2 separate regions of the Homo sapiens genome follow, and region 2 is linked to region 1. Evidence: promoter capture Hi-C in human tissues and cell types (Jung and others, 2019). All regions are on one chromosome and are shown on one strand. Each heading gives the region's core, a stretch centred on a gene start or on the middle of the fragment in contact. The rest is flanking DNA. Distances are from core to core; before and after follow the strand shown. Region 1 holds the start of ZNF318 (zinc finger protein 318). Region 2 overlaps CUL9 (cullin 9).

What was found. The method cuts DNA at HindIII sites, captures the fragments that hold promoters and counts their contacts. A contact is called where the count stands out against the background at its distance.
Region 2: a fragment that was not itself captured here is called in contact with the fragment with the promoter of ZNF318 in region 1 in 3 of the 25 tissues and cell types used here (H1 embryonic stem cells, liver and mesenchymal stem cells).

What each region holds. Positions count from the first base shown.
Region 1 is chr6:43,368,061-43,371,348 of GRCh38, forward strand. ZNF318 (zinc finger protein 318) reads right to left here and starts at 1,587. Exons shown (of 10, transcript NM_014345.3): 1 at 907-1,587. The coding sequence starts at 1,305. It overlaps LOC124901227 (atherin-like), which reads left to right and starts at 1,304. Exons shown (of 2, transcript XM_047419609.1): 1 at 1,304-1,327; 2 at 1,363-3,281. The coding sequence starts at 1,304. The coding sequence ends at 2,061. RefSeq lists silencers at 991-1,060, 1,071-1,260, 1,351-1,550, 1,741-1,840. The HindIII fragment of the contact is 7,376 bases long and covers 1-3,288 here.
Region 2 is chr6:43,197,146-43,200,433 of GRCh38, forward strand. It overlaps CUL9 (cullin 9), which reads left to right. Exons shown (of 41, transcript NM_015089.4): 12 at 1,464-1,710; 13 at 2,121-2,226; 14 at 2,784-3,011. Among named protein-coding and RNA genes, the nearest start is that of CUL9, 17 kb to the left of the region's middle. The HindIII fragment of the contact is 5,147 bases long and covers 1-3,288 here.

The DNA.
Region 1 (3,288 bases), core at 337-2,836:
AATAAAACAAATTCCCAAAAACCAGACTCTACCTAGAGGATCTCTTGGGGTGGTGGTTATGGTTAAAGGTCAACATTATTTCTAAAACTAAACTTAAACTCATGCTCCGTTCCTCTAGCAGTGAAACATAGAGGTTCAAATCATGGATTTGGGGAACCAGGCGGATCTGAGTTGAAGCACAGCTCCACCACTTAGCCGTGTCACCTCAGTCGAGTTACTTGAACCTCTCTGGGTTGGTTCCTCGGCTGTACAACAAGGAATAGTATTAACTGCCTCACTTCAAAGACTTGTGAGGGTTAAAATAATGTGCAAAGTGAAAGGCTAGGCATAATTCCTGACATAGAACTCGATAAGAGGTAGTGGCTATGGCAGTGACTGTGGTCCTGCACACTTCATTCCGAAGCAGCAGCTCCAATTCATTTAAGCTAACAGTTTACACTCTAGACGTAAAGCCTGGTAGGGTTCAAGCGTCCCTAACTCGCCACAAAAACGGACATTTCGGCTTTTTCCCCTAAGATCCAGGAAGGCAGCTCAGGTGTAAGGGGATGAAAAGTACGGAACCCCGAGGACACATCAACTCTACAAAAAGTACCAAGACACACGGTTTGGACGAAATGCCCCTCGCCTTGGCAAACTTTCCACACCTCACCCGGCATGAGAGAAACAGCCTATTCCTAAGGAACGGAGCGCGCACTCCCGACGAGACGCCCGTGCGCTCCCGAGTCCGTTATTGTGTCAACGCTCCCGGGTCTGACAGAAGCCTCCAGGCTCGGCATCCCCGAGGGAGTTGGCCGGAGGCTTCGCGCTTAGGACCCTGGTCTGGAGGCCCCGGGCGTTTCTGGAAACGGGAATTCCGGGGGAGGGGACTGGGGGATGGAGGGAGTCCTGGACGAGGGGTGGGATTACCCGGCTGCCGCTGTCGCCTGGATGGTCTCCGCGGCCGTCCCGGGCATAGTCGGCGCGGGACTCCCCCCGGCTGCTGCCTCTGAAGCCGGCCGGGCCCGGCGGGAAGAGTCGTCGGCCCCGCGGTGGCGACGGGGAGCCGCGACGGGCCCGAGGCGGGGACGGGGAGACGCGACGACCCCGTGGCGGGGACGGCGAGGCCCGGCGGCCGCGGTGCCCTGAGGGCGAGCGGGGTCGGCGAGCCGGGGTCCGCGACGAGGAGCCGGAGGGCGGAGGCGGCGGTGAGCTGCGGCGAGCCGGGCCTGAGGAGGAGCCAGAGCTGCGGCCGCTGCGCGGGCCGCCCCCGCCGTCGTCTTTAGGCCGGTGGGAAGAGACGGAGGAGCGAGCGCTGCTGCGGTACATGGTTCTTGCAGCGGCGGCCACGGCGACAGCTCTGACCCGGGGGCGCCCTAGACGCAGGCTCGGAGCGCGCCGCCGCAGCTGCAGCCGCCGCCACCTCGGCCGCTGCGCGCCGCCTCAGCCGCGGGAGCAGCCCCCTCCCCTCGGCCCCGCGTCGCCCCGGGGGCCCGGCCGAGCGCGCCCCCGCGGCTGGCGGTTGGAGGGCGCGAGCACGCGTCCGACACACCCCCCCCCGCCTCCGGGGTTCCCCGCTCCTCCACTCAGGGAGCGGCCGCAGGAACCAAGAAAAGTGGGGAGGAGCACAGACGCCGGCGCGAGGCTGGGCGAGGGGAGGGGAAGCGAAGCGCGCGCCCTGAGCTCTGCACGCCCCGCCTCCGAATCCTCAAGATGGCGGCCGCAGAGCCGCCCACTTCCCCCTCCCGCGGCCGCCACGTGACCCCTGTGGCCTCCGCGCGGGGTGGGCGGAGCGGAAGGAAGGGCTTCTCTGGAGAGGGATCTGGTTTTCCGGGGATGCTCCAGGCCTCTGGACTTAGGGGTTTGGAGACCGTGCGGAGGTGTCTTCGCTCTTTCGTGCCGCCCCTCAAGCCTCTTAATTTAGGGATGGACACGAAATGGTTGAAAACCATTCGTGATAATATAAACGGGCCTGTAAACGTTAGCTGTGTGGGAGGTTACGGACCCCGGCAGGAGCGCCCACCGAAATCCTGTCCCCAGCTGAAGCAACACGACCCGCATCAGTTTACTTTCCAGTTTGCCTAATTTCTAGAGGTTGAAATTGAGGATAGGAAAGTACGAGGTGGAGGTGGTGGGCCAGAATCAAACCCAAAATAGACGTTGTCAGGCCTCTGAGCCCAAGCTAAGCCATCATATCCCCTATGACCTGCACGTATACATCCAGATGGCCTGAGGCAACTGAAGAGCCACAAAAGAAGTGAAAATAGCCTTAACTGATGACATTCCACCATTGTGATTTGTTCCTGCCCCACCCTAACTGACAGGATATATTCTCCCCCTTGCCCTTAAGTAGGTGCTTTGTAATATTCTCCCCCGCCCTTAAGAATGTACTTTGTACACCTATCCCAAACCTATAAGAACTAATGATAATTCCACCACCCTCTGCTGACTCCTTTTTCGGACTCAACCCGCCTGCACCCAGGTAAGATAAACAGCCTTGTTGCTCACACGAAGCCTGTTTGGTGGACTCTCTTCACACGTTTTCGAGCTGTTTTCTGACTAAAGTACTTGTGGTCATGGTGGAGGTCCTTCATTACCAGGGGCCCACATCATGACCAACTGGAGGCGTGGCAAGTTTTTGTAAGAGATCCAGGCATGCCCCCTCCCCTGGCCTAAGTCCAGAATTTTCCTAGATGCCAATCTCAGGGCCCTGCATCCTAAATACAAAAGTGGGCCAGGCGCAAAGGGTCACGCCTATAATCCCACCATTTTGGGAGGCCGGGGCAGGAGGATTGCTTGAGCCTGAGAGTTCGAGACCAGCCTGGGCAACGTAGAAGGACCTCCATTTCTAAAAAAAAAAAAAAAAAATTTGCCGAGTGTGGTGGCACGTTCCTGTACCCCAGCTACTCGGGAGGTTGAGGCTGCGGTGAGCTGTGATCATGCCACTGCACTCCAGCCTGGGTGACAGAGTGAGACCCTCTCTCAAAAAATACATCCATATATATATATATCCATTTCCATACGTTCTTATAATGGCATATACTCAGTAAAAATGTATAAAATTTTTACTAGTTGACTACTTTTACCCAGCTTCACATTTTATATAATTTATATAAAATAAGAAACCAATAACATTTTAATGAAAAAAATAATAAAAATATGCCAGAGGTGTATGCCCTGTCTTTATTAGAGTATATATGGATTTTGGTTACCCATACTTTTGGTGGGACTTAATAAATGTGAAAAAAATGTAAATCAGTGTGTATAGATACTTGGAGTCAATAAATTTTAAATCATGTTTGTTATATTCTG
Region 2 (3,288 bases), core at 498-2,997, 170 kb before region 1:
AAGCAATTCTCATGCCTCAGCCTCCTGTGTAGCTGGGATTATAGGCACCTGCCACCACAGCGGGCTAATTTTTGTATTTTTAGTAGAGACAGGGTTTCACCATGTTGGCCAGGCTGATCTGGAACTCCTGACCTCAGGAGATCCACTGCCTCGGCCTCCCAAAGTGCTGGGATTGCAGGTGTGAGCCACTGCACCTGGCTGGAAATTGCCTTCTTGAATGGCTTTAAACATATGTGGATTCATATCCATCTGGGCTAGGTTTGGCCCAGTATTATTGGACAGTAGAAGACTCATTGAAATGACATCTAGGGAAGCCTTTCTCTTTTTTTGTTTTAAGCTTAACTGGTTTTTTTTTGGAGGTGGAGTCTCACTCTGTCGCCCAGGCTGGAATGCAGTTGCACGATCTCTGCTCACTGCAAGCTCCGCCTCCCGGGTTCAAGGAATTCTCCTGCCTCAGCCTCCTGAGTAGCTGGGATTACAGGTGCGCACCACCACACCCAGCTAATTTTTGTATATTTAGTAGAGACAGGGTTTCACCATGTTGGTCAGGCCGGTTTTGAACTCCTGACCTCGTGATCTGACCGCCTTGGCCTCCCAAAGTGCTGGGATTAGAGGCGTGAGCCACTGTGCCTGGCCTAAGCTTAACTTTCTCTTCACAGAATAGGGAGGCCTTCTTAAGAGAAATTATAATTTATGGTACAGAACACTTGTGCCTGGAAACATTAGATATTGATACTGGGGAAGAAACCCTTTGTGATTGAAAAACAAGTGAAAACCTAGAAGTGTGGAGGGATATTGAAATAGGAAATACGTGGCCAGGTGCAATAGCTCATGCCTTTAATCCCAGCACTTTGGGAGGCTGAGGCAGGCAGATCACTTGAGGTCAGCAGTTTGAGACCAGCCCGGCCAACATGGTGAAACCGCATCTTTACTAAAAATACAAAAATTAGCCGGGCACGGTGGTAGGTGCTTGTAATCCCAGCTACTTGGGAGGCTGAGGCAGGAGAATCACTTGAGCCCAGGAGTTGGAGGTCACAGTGAGCCAAGATCATGCCACTGCACTCCAGCCTGGGTGACAGCGCTCTGTGTATTCCTACAAAATAGGAAATATGTATGTATCTTTTAGTCTGTGTACCTAAAGCCACCATGCAGGTAGTACAGGGATATAATCATCATAGTTAATATTTACTATAACTAACATTTAATAATAGGACTATAAGAGATTTAAAATGTCTTGTGTTTAACTCGACAGTGTTTGCTATACTAGGTTTTTTTTTCAAATCTGATTAGGTTTGTATTTGGGGTCAGGAAAGAAAACCCCTCATAGTTTGGTTAAAAACTATAGACATCCTCAATATAGAAGGAAAATTTTGGGGTGATTTTCTGGACCTTCCCAGTTCTCAGTTTGACAAACTGGTAAGACTCTTCATCCACATTTTTCCCTCTGGTGTGTCTGGCTGCAGCACTAGAGACCCCCATCATCCAGGGTCAGGATGGGTCCCCTGAGCTACTGATTCGATCCCTGGTTGGGGGCCCATCTGCAGAACTACTCCTGGACTTGGAGCGTGTGCTGTGCCGTGAGGGCAGCCCCGGAGGTGCCGTGAGGCCCCTCCTCAAGCGCCTCCAGCAGGAGACCCAGCCTTTCCTCCTGTTGCTGCGGACTCTGGATGCTCCGGGGCCCAACAAGACTCTGCTGCTGTCTGTGCTGAGGTGAGGGGCCTGTTGAGGCACCATGCATTGGGACGAGGGAAACTGGCAGACTTCAGGGACTTCACTTGTTTCTTTTCTGTTTTCTTTTTTTTTTTTTTGAGTTGGAGTTTCACTCTTGTTGCCCAGGCTGGAGTGCAATGGCACGATCTCAGCTCACTGCAACCTCTACCTCCCAGGTTCAAGTGGTTCTCCTGCCTCAGCCTCCCGAGTAGCTGGGATTGCAGGCATGTGCCACCATGCCCAGCTAATTTTGTATTTTTAGTAGAGATGGGGTTTCTCCATTTTGGTCAGGCTGGTCTCGAACTCCCGACCTCAGGTGATCCGCCCACTTCGGCCTCCCAAAGTGCTGGGATTACAGGCATGAGCCACTGTGCCTGGCCTGACTTCACTCGTTTCTACCCCCTCACCAGGGTCATAACCCGACTGCTGGATTTCCCTGAGGCAATGGTCCTCCCCTGGCACGAGGTCTTGGAGCCCTGCCTCAACTGCCTGAGTGGCCCTAGCAGTGACTCCGAGGTACCAGAACCCTGGCAAGGAGAAGAGAGGGAAGGGCAGCATCTGGGGCACCAACTCCTTGTGAGGCTCTGGAGGGCACAGCAGAGCCTTTCTGAATGGATCTTGGGGCACTGGGATGGGTGTAGGAGGAGGAAGGGTAATGTAATCTAAGAATCTCCAGAACTGGAATCTTTGAAGTATAAACCTTTTAGATGATTTTAGATTTGGAGTTTAGATTCTGGACTAAGGAGAAGCCCACATTCACCAATCCAGACAGCTGTCCTCCCTTCCGGGTTTGTGCATTGGAGAGCAAGGCTCAGGCACCAGGGTTAACATAGCTTGGCCTGGGCAGGAAGCAGCCTGGAAAGCTGTGCCCAAGCTCTGTTCTGCCAACTCACTCTGGAGTCCCAGCACTCCTCTATTTTACTCCACCCTGAATTTGGTACTCTTGTTTCCCTGGGCGTTGGCATGTCTCCACAATCTCAGCCACGACACTTCCTTTACTGAACCCTCTCCTCAATCCTTACATGTCCTACCTCTTGTTTCCTGTAAATTAATCTATGTGGCTCTGGGCTCAGATTGTTCAGGAGCTGACCTGCTTCCTACATCGCCTGGCCTCGATGCATAAGGACTATGCTGTGGTGCTCTGCTGCCTGGGAGCAAAAGAGATCCTCTCCAAAGTCCTGGACAAGCACTCAGCTCAGCTGCTGCTGGGCTGTGAGCTTCGGGACCTGGTGACAGAGTGTGAGAAGTACGCACAGCTCTATAGCAACCTCACCTCCAGCATCCTGGCCGGCTGCATTCAGGTGAGGAGCGGCTGTGGGTATGCAGCTGAGAGAATGCAAGTCAGAAGCAGGAGAAGGGGATTCACTGTGTTCCTCTTTGGTATCCCTGTTTGGCACAGGTTGTAGCAAATCTGGGGCACTTGTTTCCTAACCTTGACTCCACATGGTTCTGTCAAAATGTGGGGAGAGAGGAGTTGAGTATACCGTTGACCCTTGACTTTTTCTCTCTACCTGTTTCTGGGCATTTCTCTGTGTTCCTCCCTCTCCTCTTCCTCATTCTCCCTGATGTTCCGGCTGC